Regions from separate parts of the Homo sapiens genome. Here all the other regions are linked to region 5. The links are contacts of gene promoters, found by promoter capture Hi-C in human tissues and cell types (Jung and others, 2019). All regions are on one chromosome and are shown on one strand. Each heading gives the region's core, a stretch centred on a gene start or on the middle of the fragment in contact. The rest is flanking DNA. Distances are from core to core; before and after follow the strand shown. Region 1 overlaps PCBP2 (poly(rC) binding protein 2). Region 2 overlaps ATF7-NPFF (ATF7-NPFF readthrough). Region 3 overlaps ATF7-NPFF (ATF7-NPFF readthrough). Region 4 overlaps ATF7-NPFF (ATF7-NPFF readthrough). Region 5 holds the start of CALCOCO1 (calcium binding and coiled-coil domain 1).

Region 1 (2,700 bases), core at 172-2,671, 250 kb after region 5:
ACCGTGCCCGGCAGGGGATATTTAGTTCTTAAAAGGGGGGTAGATTCGTGCCAATTTCAAAACACAATGATCTAAGGAAAGGTAAACAATAGCCCTGGATTAAAGGGTTCAGTAAGAACTGAAGGTCTAAGAAAGGAACTGCTAGATACCATTAGATCTAGGACCTGAAAATTTAAGTTCATAAAAATTGGTGGTAGCACTCTGGCCCCACCAGAGCTCTGAAAGAAATGTTCTGAATGTGTATCAAGCCCGAATGGGGATTTGCTGGGGTGGGGGAGGTGACGCAGGGAGAAGGGGATGCTATGAAATACTGAGTCAGGTACTCTAGGATAAAAGACCACATGGGGGAGCTCTAGGGTTTAAAAAAATTTAAAACTGAGGCCCTTTGGAGGTAGTGATGGTAGCTAGACCCTTAAACATGTGGAATCCTTCCTTGGGGAATAGCCATTAGGTTAAGAGGCCTTCCAATCAAGAACTAGATAAAACCACATCCCTGGGGGGAGATGGTATCAGCATGATTAAGTCCTAACTACAGGAGGAGCAAGCTTACCAAGGGAGAGAGCTGGACCACATGATAAAGGAGCAACTAAATAAAACTCCTTACTGGACAGGTTTGGCCATCTAATCCTTTATGCATACTTGAGACGTGTAACACTTCTTCACAGGCCCAATCTGGGATGGAGGGGCCAAAATAACATCAAAGAATGAGATAATATATTGGAATACTAACAGCTTTTTTTTTTTTGTCAGCCAATGGTGATGCTGGGAAAAGGTCATCAGGGAAACTATCTCTACACTGAGTTCTCTAATGCCCTGGGAAGAGCATTACACTTTCAGCACTGTGGCAACGTGTACTCTCGTTGAATGGAAGGCTATCAGAGGCCTTATACCACCATACTAAGAACATTTCTACTGTTTTATGAGAGGCCTGTGCCCATCTTAGTATAAGAAAATGAACAAGATTTCAGGGAGGTTAGTACGATTGAGTAAAAGTAAAGCTTAAGTTGTTAGTCCTGGCTAGTCACTCATAACCTATGAATTTAAATTATCTTAGGGCCTCTATTTTTTAATCTGTAAAATGAGGGGATCAATGTGTTACAGATTAGTTGATCCTTAAGGTTCCTTCCAAATCTAAGCATGTCACTTCCTACTCCTGATAGTGCTGGTGGGGAGCAGAAAGGATACGGCCAGGAATAGAAAAAAGGGTAAAGAAACTTGGTTGACAGAGTTGGTTTAGGACTAGTGGATGGCATCATGTCAAGTTGTGGATAATGTCACGGGTTGGCTGAGATATACCTAATGTCACAGAAAGAGGCATAATGCTAATTCAGAGGAATGCAGACAGAAGCTGCCTAATTTTATTAGACTTATCCCACTTTGCCCCTCCCCTTCATTCTGGGTAAAGAAGTATGTTCTTTGAATGTATGACTTGGAAGAGATCCTCATGGTAACCATTCACCAGAGGAATCCTGGGATGAACACCTTGTTAGCTGCTGCTGGCAAGGTAAGGCCATCTGAGAAGTCAGATAAACTTCCTCACTAGTGAAGCTTGTTGCCAATTACAGAGGACCTTCAGGATCTAAACTGCCACAGACTCGTTATCTCTTTGTGGAAATATTGACAAACGACTATAAAATTCACTTGGGATTCAAAAAGCCCATGTCAGTTATACAGGCTTCCTAGCTGAATAGCCACAAGTCACAAGCCCCCAACCCTTTACCCTTCACAGCACACAGTGTACTAAGGTTCTTACTGCGCCAACTTTATTACAGCTAGAAACACAAATATGGCCAAGAAGGCCTGCTGATAGCTTAACCATTAAATAATTCTTAAAAAAAAAAAAAAAAGTTAACGAAGCAGCTTTTATTCATTAACACAGAGCCTAACACATTGTTATATTGCAAGGCAGAATAAAGCTACAAAGAAAAGTAACAAACAAGAAAGAAGAGAAAACTGTGGCTCTAGATAAAGAATTCAAGTCAGACCCTGAAACAGGCACTCAGCTGAAATGGCCTAAACCTAAACAAGGGTTACCACTCCCCCACCCCCACCCAGTTATCCCCCAAAGTAGTAAAAAGGAAACGGTAACAAGCTCACAATAGTTTCATTCTCACCAATGTTAACAAAGGAAAACAAAATGAACAAAATAATACTGGAGGAGGTGCCTCAAGGTATGCAATCAGTAGGGAGAGAATCTCTGTTTCTCGCCTTTCAGTTTGTTAGTTACACATGGCACGGCAGAGGTGGTGGTGGTGGTAGCTGAAGCCCCGGTACCCTTAGCAGCAGACACAACATTTAGAGCCAGGAGAGGGATGGGTTTCATGCCAAGCAGACTGGAGACACAAGGGGCGGTCGGAAGAGGGTTGGGGAGGCTGGAGGGTGCGTCGGAGGTCCCCGCTGTGGCGAGCGAGGGGGTGGTGGTGGAGGAGGAAGAAGAAGAAGGGGTGGAGGGTTGAGAGAGGTTGATGCTGAGGTGATCAGGGATCGTGACGGAGGCTGCCTGGGAGGAGGGTTTAGCGTTTTCTAAACTGTAACAGAGGAAAAAAGGAACAAAAAAAAAGGGTGGGTGGAAGGGAAGACCACAAAAGGGAGTAAGTACAGGACAAAAACTGCTTCAGTTATATCAGTAAGTGCCTCTGGTTGACAATTAGGAAGACCTAGTGTCAACTTGTGACAAGCTTTCTTTTAGCCTATGTCCCA
Region 2 (2,700 bases), core at 112-2,611, 140 kb after region 5:
CTATTCCCATAGTCCTAAGGGAGGCATTTTGCTTCTCCATAGACAGTAATCGGCTTGTCAGAGTGGAGTGGCTTTTTGTTTTTCCTTTATCTAGTAGAATGGAGTGGGCTAAGCCTTTCTGGGAAGCAATTTCTTCCTCCACCGCATGAACAGAAGGTCATGGATACTGTCTCTGAAACAAAGGGGAGGTAGTGATAGAAAAATCAGTGTCTGGGGCATAATTGGATTGAAGCTCTGTCAAGGAGACACCAGTTCCTGCTTGGAAGCTGGACTTTCTGCTATGCTTTGGTTTTCTGTCTTTTCTGAGCACTGTATGAGAATGAATATGCAAGAAGCTATTCACATTTACTTAGTGGTTTTCAGTCTTTTCTTTTTTCATTTATGCTCTTCCTTTGCTTTTTTTTAAATTAAGAAACTATTTTTTTTAGAGCAGTTTTAGATTCACAGCAAAATTGAGTGAAAAGTGCAGAGGATTCTCATATACCTCCTGTCCTCACACACACTAGCCTCCCCCACTGTCAACATACTGAACCACAATGCTAATTTGTTACATTCAATGAACCTGCATTGACATATTATCACCCAAGTCCATAGTTTATATTAGAATTCACTCTTGGTATTACAAATTCTGTAGGTTTTAACAAATATATAATGAGGCCGGGCACAGTGGTTCATGCCTGTAATCTCAACACTTTGGGAAGCCGAGGCAGGAGGATTGCTGGAGCCCAGGAGTTCAAGACCAGCCTAGGCAACATAGTGAGACCCCATCCTTACAAAAAAAAAATTAAAAATTAGCCAGGTGTGGTAATGTGCACCTGTAGTCCCAGCTATTCAGGAGGCTGAGGTGGGAGGACTGCTTGAGCCCGGGAGGTCAAGGCTGCAGTGAGCCATGATTGTGCCACTGCACACCAGCCTGGGCAACAGAGTGAACTCCTGTCAAATCAATATATAAAATGACACGTATCCACCATTGTAGTATCATACAGAATAGTTTCACTGTCCTAAATATCCTCTGTGCTCTGCCTGTTCATCCCTCACTTCCCACTGACCGCTGGCAAGCACTGATCTTGCCAAAACTACTGTCTCCGTAGTTTTGCCGTCTACAGAATGTTGTTTAGTTGGAATCATACAATATAAGGCCGTTTCATACTAGCTTCTTTCATTTAGTAATATGCATTTAAGTTTCTTCCTTATCTTTTCATGGCTTGATACCTTATTTCTTTTTAGTGCTGAGTAATATTCCATTGTCTGAATGTACCACAATTTATCCATTCACCTGCTGAAGGACATCTTCATTGCTTCCGAGATTTGGCAATTATGAGTAAAGAAAGCTGCTATATAAATATCCATGTGCAGGCTTTTGTGTGGACATAAGTTTTCTGTTCATTTGGGTAAATATCAATGAGTGTGATCACTGGATCATATGGTAATACTATGTTTATGGTAAGACTATGTTTAGTTTTGTAAGAAACTGTCAAACTGTCTTCCAAAGTGGCTATATTATTTAGCATTCCCACCAAAAATGAATGAGAGTTCTTGTTGCTCCACATCCTTATCAACATTTAATGTTGTCAGTGTTTTGGATTTTGGCCACTCTAATAGGTGTGTAATGGATTTTGTTGTTTTAATTTGCATTAAACAACAATTTAATGCCTGCCGGGTGGCTCACACCTGTAATCCCTGCATTTTGGAAGGCCAAGGCGGGTGGATCACCTGAGGTCAGGAGTTCGAGAAGAGCCTGGCCAATATGATGAAACCCCCGTCTCTCCTAAAAATACAAAAATTAGCTGGGCGTGGTGGCAAGTGCCTGTAGTCCCAGCTACTCAGGAGGCTGAAGCCAGGAGAATCGCTTGAACTTGGGAGGCGGAGGTTGCAGTGAGCCAAGATCACGCCACTGTACTCCAGCCTGGGTGACAGAGTGAGAGTCTGTCTCAAAAAATAATACTAATAACAATTATCTGTATTTGTATTTCCCTGATGGCATGATGTTGAGCATGCTTATTTGCCATCTGTATTTTTCTTTGGTGAAGTGTCTGACTAAAGTCCGTTGCCCATTTTTTAATCAGGTTGTTCATTTTCTTACTGTTCAGTTTTAAGAGTTCTTTGTGTATTTTGTATGACAGTCCTTTATCAGGTGTATCTTTTACATTCTCTCCCATTCTGTAGCTTGTCTTTACATTTTCTTGACATTGTCTTTCACAGAGCAGATATTTCTAATTTTAGCACAGTCCAGCTTATCAATTACTTAGTTCATGGATCATGACTTTGGTGTTGTATTTAAAAAGTCATCGCCATACAAAAGTCATCTAGGTCAGTGGTCCCCCACCTTTTTGACACCAGGGACTGGTTTCCTGGAAGAATTTTTTTCATGGACTGGGGGTGGGGGGGATTCAAGCAAATTACATTTATTGTGTACTTTATTTATAGTATTATTAAATTATAATATAATAGTGAAATAATTATACAACTCACCATAATGTAGAATCAGTGGGAGCCCTGAGCTTGTTTTCCTGCAACTAGATGGTCCCATCTGGGGGTGATGGGAGATAGTGACAGATCATCAGGCATTAGATTCTCATAAGGGGCATACAACCTAGATCCCTCACATACACAGTTCACAGTAGGGTTGGGACTCCTTTGAGAATCTAATGCTGCGACTGATCTGACAGAAGGCAGAGTTCTGGCTGTAATGCAAGTGAT
Region 3 (2,700 bases), core at 37-2,536, 210 kb after region 5:
TTCATTATAGCAAAGATGTATTTAGTTCCTGCTGTGTGGTATAGATATTATGTAAGTACCTGACACATGATGAATAAGACACTGTCACTACCTCTGAGAGAATCATAGGGTCATATAAACCTGTGGATGAGGTAAGGATAGATATCCCAGTTAAAAAGCCCCTAAACTGGGAGCTTCCTAAGGATAGGGTTCCCGTTTTCTTCTCTGTGTACCCATGCCTGGTACATGGATGATGCTCAGTAAAATGTTTGATGAATATATGCTGTGAAAACACAAAGAATAAAACAGTTAATGTACTGAGGGTAACAAAGATGGCTTCACAGAGGACGCAATATTTGAATCTTTTTTTTTTTTTTTTTGAGACGGAGTCTCGCTCTGTTGCCCAGGCTGGAGTGCAGTGGCACAATCTCGGCTCACTGCAAGCTCTGCCTCCCGGGTTCACACCATTCTCCTGCCTCAGTCTCCCAAGTAGCTGGGACAACAGGCGCCCGCCACCATGCCCAGCTAATTTTTTGGTTTTTTTTTTTTTTGAGTAGAGACGGGGTTTCACCATGTTAGCCAGGGTAGTCTCGATCTCCTGACCTCCTGATCCGCCCAGCTTGGCCTCTGAAAGTGCTGGGATTACAGGCGTGAGCCACTGCGCCCGGCCATATTTGAATCTTAAAAGAAGACTCAGGCATTCATCAGGATGTCAGAAATACAACTGACTATGGAACGTTTGCCTTTTTTCCACATATTTCTGTTTAAGCAGCCATAGAGGCTATCCGATGTTTAATAAAACTCCTTGACTTGCTGAGTGTGATGACTCATACCTGTAATCCCGGCAATTTGGGAGTCTGAAGCAGGAGGATGGCTTGAGGCCAGCAGTTGAAGGCTGCTGTGAGCTGTGATTGTGCCATGGCACCTCCAGCCTGGGTGACAGAGTGAGACCCTCTAAAAAAATTTTAAAAACATTTGACTAATGAGCAACATGGAGTTACCATTGTATGTAGCTCAGGTAGTTGTGTTTAGTAGTAAAATGTTAGTGTCACTTTAGGTGGAGTGGCATAACTTATAATGTTTTATAATCATTAATGCCTAGCTAATTTTTAGTCAGGAGGGTCTTAAGATTTCTTTGTAGTTTTACATGTTAACTGAACCCGGGCCAGGGACTGGCCATTCATAATATCATTTAATTATAGCTTGATATCTATCAGACTTACCTGTGGTACAACTACATGGTAAAGGAACATTAAAAATAATGGAATAGGCCTGCCACAGTGGCTCACGCCTATAATCCCAGCACTTTGGGAGGCCAAGGCAGGCCAATCACTTGAGGTCAGGAGTTTGAGACCAGCCTAGCTAACGTGGCAAAACCCCATCTCTACTAAAAATTCAAAAATTAGCCAGGTGTGGCAGTGTGCACCTGTAGTCCCAGCTACTCGGAAGGCTGAGGCACGAGAATCACTTGAACCTGGATGGCAGAGGTTGCAATGAGCTGAGATTGCACCACTGCACTCCAGCCTGGGCAACAGAGCAAGACTCAGTCTTAGGAAAAAAAATAAATAAATAAAATAATGGAATAATTCAGTTCCTGTGAGAATTAATCAAAGAGGATGGCTAAAAAGAGATCTATTTTAAATCATCTTTAAAGAAATGAAGGCCAGGCGCAGTGGCTCATGCCTATAATCCCAGCACTTTGAGAGGCCAAGGCAGGAGGATCACTTGAGACCCTATCTCTTAAAAACAAGAAAGAATAGAAGTAATGAATAATAATAAGAGTTGGTAATGAACTATGCAAAGACCTAGAAACCAGACAGTGTAATTAACATGTTGGAGATTCATTTTATTGGAATAGATAGGTTAATTTTGGCCTAGTTCTTCCCTTCTTACAACTTCCCATTTCCTAGCCCATTTATGACTTAGAAGCCAGGATTCTGGGAAGTTTTCCCCAAAAAAAAGATGGGTTTCATTTCCCTTTTGGGCTCCTTTAGAATTATGGCAAAAGGTAGTCCTGCCTCTTTCCCCATTCTGTTTTCTAACCAATTGCTCTCTGCTCTTTGCCCTCCTTCCTGGCAGAAAGCCCCAAGGAAAGCTCAGAGCCAACGGGTTCTCCAGCCCCTGTGATTCAGCACAGCTCAGCAACAGCCCCTAGCAATGGCCTCAGTGTTCGCTCTGCAGCTGAAGCTGTGGCCACCTCGGTCCTCACTCAGATGGCCAGCCAAAGGACAGAACTGAGCATGCCGATACAATCGCATGTAATCATGACCCCACAGTCCCAGTCTGCGGGCAGATGATGCCTCCTCTGGTGGAGAGGTCCTCAGCCAGAGCTCGCCCGCCCAAGAGCCAAGAGAGATGTCATCTTATCCCCTCCCATCTGCCTTGGACATGGCAATATGGGTGGGGGGAATTGTGTGTTGTGAGTAATGGACAGATATGGGGCTTTTTAGCCATGTGGTCATGTACGTTTGACACCTGTGCTGGGGGCCTCCCAGCCCCGGAGCCTCATAGATCATCCCCCAGGGTGGGGTTTCTGATGCATCCACAGCCAAAGGCCTTTCCAGATGGTCCGAACAATCACCCCTGCCCCATGCACGTGTATCTGTCTCTTTTAACACTAACCCTTGGCACTTCTAGGTTTGGGGTTTCTCAGTTCCCTCTCTTCCCACTAAGCCGTGGCTGTTACCTTTTTGTTCCTTACCAGCATGCCACTTCCTGCCA
Region 4 (2,700 bases), core at 119-2,618, 160 kb after region 5:
TTACTTGGCAGAAGACTTGACCCATGGGGCTCATGAATTTTCACATTTGTCAGGAGGAAGGAACAAGGAACCAAAATAGAAGCAAGTATTGCAGTATGGCTGAGGGCTTAAAACTTAGGTACTTAGAGGAATAGTTATACCATTGGTCTGTATAATGTAAAACAGAGGTGTACAATCTTTTGGCTTCCCTGGGCCACATTGGAAGAAGAATTGTCTTGGGCCACACATAAAAATATACTAACGCCAACAATAGCTGATGAACTAAACAAAAAAAAAATCGCCAAAAAATCTGATAATGTTTTAAGAAAGCTTACGAATTTATGTTGGGCCATGTTGAAAGCCATTCCGGGCTGCATGTGGTCTGCAGGCCAAAGGTTGGACAAGTTTGATGTAGAATAATAATGCATTGCTATTAAACCCAGATCATAACGATGAAGACCCAACAACTCAGTGTTGACTATGGGTTTAAAATTCTTTTTCTGTTCCCCTCTAACTAGCTTGTTGATTTAATTGTAACATACTTTTCCTTTTGTCAGATACTGGAGTGTACGATTTTTTAAAGGAGGAATCCAGTTCTTGACACTGTTTGACACCTATGAGATGCTCATATGCTCATATTCTGCCTGTAAAATTCAAATAATTGAGATCTTAAAAGAAAATGCTCAAAAGGATGTGGTTAAAATTACCACTAGTGGTTTGGGGATTGAAGAAGGAACTTAAAAGGGAATGGCTTGTAAATTCACATTTTTTTGCACAAGGTATTTTAGTTGAGTTTAGTTTATATTTTGAAACAGAGTCTTGCTCTGTCGCCCAGGCTGGAATGCAGTTGTGTGATCTCAGCTCACTGCACCCTCCACTTCCTGGGTTCAGGTGATTCTTGTGCCTCAGCCACCCAAGTAACTGGGATTATCAGGCATGCACCACCATGTCCAGCTAATTTTTATATTTTTAGTAGAGACAGGGTTTTGCCATGTTGGCCAGGCTGGTCTCAAACGCCTAGCCTCAAGTGATCTGCCCACCTCAGCCTCCCAAAGTGCTGGATTACAGGCATAAGCCACTGTATCTGGCCTCACAGGACATTTTAATTGGTAATAAAATTCAGTGCTGGAATCAGATACCCTAAGAAAGTGAATTGACCCACAAAGACCATGGCACCAGTGTCCTTTCATACAACAGCAGTATAACTCTAGCATACTGTAATTGTCTTAGGTGCCTTTCTGTAATAAAGGGAATCTGGTATCAAAAAAAGTAGGCAAGAGGATACACTAATTCTCACTGATTTGAACAGTGAAATTTACTTTGCAAATGGAGTTGGAAAGCCATCAGATCTTTCTGAAAGTGTGCCATGTTAAGGTCTGAGAATCCAAGAGTGATAAAGCTTTTCAACAGTTACTCTTATGTCACTATATAAAACTTTACCCAATCACTGAAGCAATAATTTATTGAGTGCCAAACTGGGCAAGCCCAGAGGTGGGGCAGGTGAAAAGGATAAAAAATAAGTGTGAGACATGTTTTTAACCCTCTAGTAGTTTACAGTCTACTTTGTTTGAGACATCCTTGTTCTGTTGCCCAGGCTGGAGTGCGATGGCACAATCTTGGCTCACTGCAACCTCTGCCTCCAGTTCAAGTGATCCCTCCCACCTCAGCCTTCCTAGTTGGGACTACAGGCACACACCACCACACCTGGCTAATTTTTTTTTTTTCTTTTCGGTAGAGGTGGGGTTTCACCTTGTTGCCCAGACTGGTCTCAAACTCTTGGGGTCAAGCAATTCTCCCGCCTCAGCCTCCCAGAGTGCTGGGATTACAGGTGTGAGCCACTGCGCCTGCCCATACAGTCTACTTTAAAAAGATAAAAATTGTGAGACCATATAGACTAAAATTCTATATGTATAATTATATAAATAAATTTCCATTTGAATACTATACAAGTTCAAGAAAGATAGATCACTGAAGATTGGAGTCATTAGAGAAGCTTTCAAAAAGCTATTGGATTTCAGCTGGGCCTAGAAAAATGGTAGTATTCCAGTAAACAATGGAGAGAGGAACACATTTCAAGGAATATGGGAATGTGTGTGGAGGCACAAAATTGAAAATAAATAGACTTCGCAGATCAGTAAGAGACTGACCTGGGTAGAAAGTGTTAGTAGAAGAATAGCAGAAAATAAAATCATAAACAAGGACAAGAGGACAGAAAGGTAATGTATTTTACATTCCTTTAAAATCTCCTTTGGGAATGATTTCAAACCCACCCCACCCCCAAGAGTCAAATCCTTCCTAATGATTTAAATCCCCATTGCTGCCATTTTGTCTTTTTCCTGTGGTTACAATTTTTGAAATTCTATTTGTTTCTTACTCTGATCTTCTTGCATCCTTGCATTAGGGTATTCTTGGTCCTGACTGGGCCCAGCCTCTGGTTCCGTAGGAAAAAGCTGGTGTTTAAGATAGATACCAACTCTCCTTTTGGATATGGATGATGAAAATTGTCCCACCATTGCACACATGGGCAAAAAAAAATTTTTTTTTTTTTGAGATGAAGTTTCGCTCTTGTCCCCCAGGCTGGAGTGCAGTGGCACAATCTCGGCTCACCGGCCTTCTGGGTTCAAGTGATTCTCCTGCCTCAGCCTCCCGAGTAGCTGGGATTACAGGTGCGTACCACCACACCCAGCTAATTTTTTGTATTTTTTAAGTAGAGACGGGGTT
Region 5 (2,700 bases), core at 27-2,526:
ATTTTTAAGTGCCTGGAGATCTTCAGATGAAAGACACTGAGGGCAGACACCGCATTCAGTCATAAAAGCAAAACACTACCAAAAAACTTGGAAAAGGCAGAAGCTCCATAACTTAGTGCAGTAGAGAATTAAAGCAGGCACCTAGGAAGAGGAAATCAATCCTTAAGACTGTAATCCTTTAATGCAGAGCCAGAGAAAGAGGTAATTCTGAATGCCTCCGACTACAGGGATGGAGAATAGCGAGAGGGGGGACAGGATGCCCAAGTCTATAACGTGACTTGGGGTGTGGGAGACGTGTCAATCTTTCACCTCTCCTAAATAAAAACCGGAACGTCAACATGTATTGTTATCCTAATTAATTTAAGCCACTTAAAAGGCTTGGGCAAACAGGCCCCATAAGTGGCTTGTTTGTGAATTGTGACAGGTCCTGAATTATGCCAAGCTCCCTTTTCAATTTCATTCTTCTCATTCCACCGCTCCTACCACCACCTCAGTCAATTGTATCCTCTTCCTAGACCCAGAAGCCACTCTGGGGGAGCCCAGTCCAGATGTGGATATGGTCAGGCCCCTTAGCACTGAAATCCTCAAGTTGGAAAAAAATGGTCAGCTGTGCAGAAGACATCATTCTTACAAGGTCTGTCCCTGAGATTGAAGTAAAGAAGAAACTGCTATACCCCAGCTATCAGTTTCCCATCCCCAAAATGGTGGGTAGCTGTGGTGTAGTGGCAAGAATATATGACGTGGAATTAGCCAAGGCTAATGCAGTTCTACATTTCATAGCTTTGACACTTCACACCGCCTCCTTAACCGTACTTCACTTTCTACATCTATAAAGCGTGCATAACGCTTAACGCCTATCTCACAGGTGGGTGCGAAAAGTACAGGACGGGACGCAACAGAAACCGCTCTGCCCACCGTTAAAGCGTTATATGGAAGGCTTTAGAGCCGTAAATCCTCCCCAGCCCCCAACAACGCACGTTACAAACCAGCAGCCACCCCTAATGCAGCCGGCCCCCTCCTAAGGGATCATGGGCCTTGAAGTCCTTTGCTGGCCACACCCTCGTTTTCTGTCATAGGAGTGAGAACTACGCCTCCCAGGATGCCGCGGTGAGGCCGCCGTCACGGACGCCCTCTTCCCCGCCCTCCTTGCGCGCAGCCTTCTGGGATGTATAGTCCTAGATCCGAGCACGCAGCGGCAAAAGGGCGCAGAAGAACCACAAACCCCAGAAGCCCTCGCGCCCACTCTTCTCCCTCCCCTCCAGAAGTCGGAGTGCTGTTTTTGTTGTTGGTGAAAGGTGAGGGGAACAGCTGATCCGTCTGTTGGGTAAGAAACTTGGCCTAATTGGGGGCGATCTTATGGGAGGGGAGGGTCACCCCACTTTCCAGTTTGGGGAAGGATAACGTAAGGGAACTGTCGAAGGGGAATACAGGAGCGTTTGGGTTGTAACCCTTTCCGTACTGGAGAAGCCACCCCCGCTGTTTGGGGAGTTCTTGGTTTCAAGGGGACTCTGATTGGGGGTGGGGGGCGCCCCCTCGTCGTCCTCTCCTTCTTCTCAATGCGTCTCTATAAAGCTGATCCCTTCAAGGGAGCTGAAATCTGCTTATTCGCTCCCAGGCAAGACGTGTCCCCTACACGTCTTCCCTCTCTCCCCTACGCAAATCCAAAGGCCTTTACGACGCTGAATCCCTGGGGAGGAAGGGGGACCTTCCAAGGTGTAGAATGTCAAGGAACTCTAGAGCCCTACAGAGTAGGGGATGGGACACCCGCTCTCCGCCCCATCATGTGAACATCTGAATCAGGCTACACACCTACATCTTAGGTGCCCAAAACTTTCTTTCGGACATGAAGAACGTTTACAGCTGTTACGGATTTTCTTTGTGGGGTGTATTTTAGGGTTCTCCAGGTATATCTTTGGGGACAATTTACCCCCACCCTTAGAAAGCTGGAAGAATTGCATTTGGAGAAAACATGGATTAGTTTCAACCAGGAATTTTTCAGGGAGATGAACATTAAAAAAAACTTTTTGTTCTACCTATTTGGGGGACAGAAGTTGCTCCTTTTTGTGTTGCTGGCTCACCTTTATCCACTGAGTTTCTGTTTTCTTTTAAAGTTCCTGTCCCCTGGACTTCAGCCTGGTGTGGGTTTGTGATGTTTGGGGGCGTGCATATGACTAGTGACAATGGCTGGTTGGACATGTCAGCTGTGAGTGACACAGGAAATAGATTAGTGGGCTGGAAAGGAGTGATGAATAAGAGGGCCATCTCACAGCCCTGGACTGAGGAGTTCTTTTGATCGTTATTATTGTTATCTGTCCTCACCCCACCCTCATATTTTCCAATTAACTCTCCCCAGCTAACTTGGAACACCCCTTCCTCTCAACCCCATCCTGTAGTGTGTCTCCAGCTACCAATACAAACAGATGGAAGGATGGAGGCTGAGGGGAGCAGAGAGAAAATGAGGAGAGAAATACTAAAGTGAAACCAGTAGGTTTCTAGTCCTGCTGCAGGCACAGTCTGGAGAGAAGAATGTTAGGTTCTTTTTGAACTATCTCCCCTTTCCTCAACGTTAAATATACATTTCCACTTCTTGGGGCCCCTTACTTCCCACTTTCTAGTCTGTTCCCTGCCCTGGGGTGGGGCTTTCCTGGCTCCAGGCCCCCACATTCCATCTCCCCACCCCCACCACGTTCCTGCTAAGCG

Evidence for each region. Contacts are between HindIII fragments. The study calls those that stand out against the background at their distance.
Region 1: a fragment that was not itself captured here is called in contact with the fragment with the promoter of CALCOCO1 in region 5 in 2 of the 25 tissues and cell types used here (adrenal gland and dorsolateral prefrontal cortex).
Region 2: a contact is called between a fragment that was not itself captured here and the fragment with the promoter of CALCOCO1 in region 5, in 2 of the 25 tissues and cell types used here (liver and mesenchymal stem cells).
Region 3: a fragment that was not itself captured here is called in contact with the fragment with the promoter of CALCOCO1 in region 5 in 1 of the 25 tissues and cell types used here (IMR-90 fibroblasts).
Region 4: a contact is called between a fragment that was not itself captured here and the fragment with the promoter of CALCOCO1 in region 5, in 3 of the 25 tissues and cell types used here (IMR-90 fibroblasts, dorsolateral prefrontal cortex and lymphoblastoid cells).

The regions. Positions count from the first base shown.
Region 1 is chr12:53,474,697-53,477,396 of GRCh38, reverse strand. The region is part of intron 14 of PCBP2 (poly(rC) binding protein 2); the gene reads right to left. Among named protein-coding and RNA genes, the nearest start is that of PCBP2-OT1, 12 kb to the right of the region's middle. The HindIII fragment of the contact is 4,559 bases long and covers 1-2,700 here.
Region 2 is chr12:53,583,231-53,585,930 of GRCh38, reverse strand. All of the region lies in intron 2 of ATF7-NPFF (ATF7-NPFF readthrough), which reads left to right. All of the region lies in intron 2 of ATF7 (activating transcription factor 7), which reads left to right. It overlaps LOC124902937 (a long non-coding RNA gene), which reads right to left. Exons shown (of 3, transcript XR_007063316.1): 3 at 1-172. Among named protein-coding and RNA genes, the nearest start is that of ATF7, 42 kb to the left of the region's middle. The HindIII fragment of the contact is 4,179 bases long and covers 1-2,700 here.
Region 3 is chr12:53,516,713-53,519,412 of GRCh38, reverse strand. ATF7-NPFF (ATF7-NPFF readthrough) reads left to right here. Exons shown (of 15, transcript NR_159377.1): 12 at 2,059-2,398. It overlaps ATF7 (activating transcription factor 7), which reads left to right. Exons shown (of 12, transcript NM_006856.3): 12 at 2,059-2,700. The coding sequence ends at 2,276. It overlaps ATF7-AS1 (ATF7 antisense RNA 1), which reads right to left. Exons shown (of 3, transcript NR_046221.1): 3 at 1,805-2,700. Among named protein-coding and RNA genes, the nearest start is that of ATF7-AS1, 4.1 kb to the right of the region's middle. RefSeq lists an enhancer at 1,825-2,324. The HindIII fragment of the contact is 5,161 bases long and covers 1-2,700 here.
Region 4 is chr12:53,562,463-53,565,162 of GRCh38, reverse strand. The region is part of intron 2 of ATF7-NPFF (ATF7-NPFF readthrough); the gene reads left to right. The region is part of intron 2 of ATF7 (activating transcription factor 7); the gene reads left to right. All of the region lies in intron 2 of LOC124902937 (a long non-coding RNA gene), which reads right to left. Among named protein-coding and RNA genes, the nearest start is that of ATF7-AS1, 50 kb to the right of the region's middle. The HindIII fragment of the contact is 4,567 bases long and covers 1-2,700 here.
Region 5 is chr12:53,726,028-53,728,727 of GRCh38, reverse strand. CALCOCO1 (calcium binding and coiled-coil domain 1) reads left to right here and starts at 1,276. Exons shown (of 15, transcript NM_020898.3): 1 at 1,276-1,324. LOC105369774 (a long non-coding RNA gene) reads right to left here and starts at 2,149. Exons shown (of 3, transcript XR_944973.3): 1 at 2,079-2,149. RefSeq lists enhancers at 1,124-1,183, 2,501-2,700. The HindIII fragment of the contact is 5,999 bases long and covers 1-2,700 here.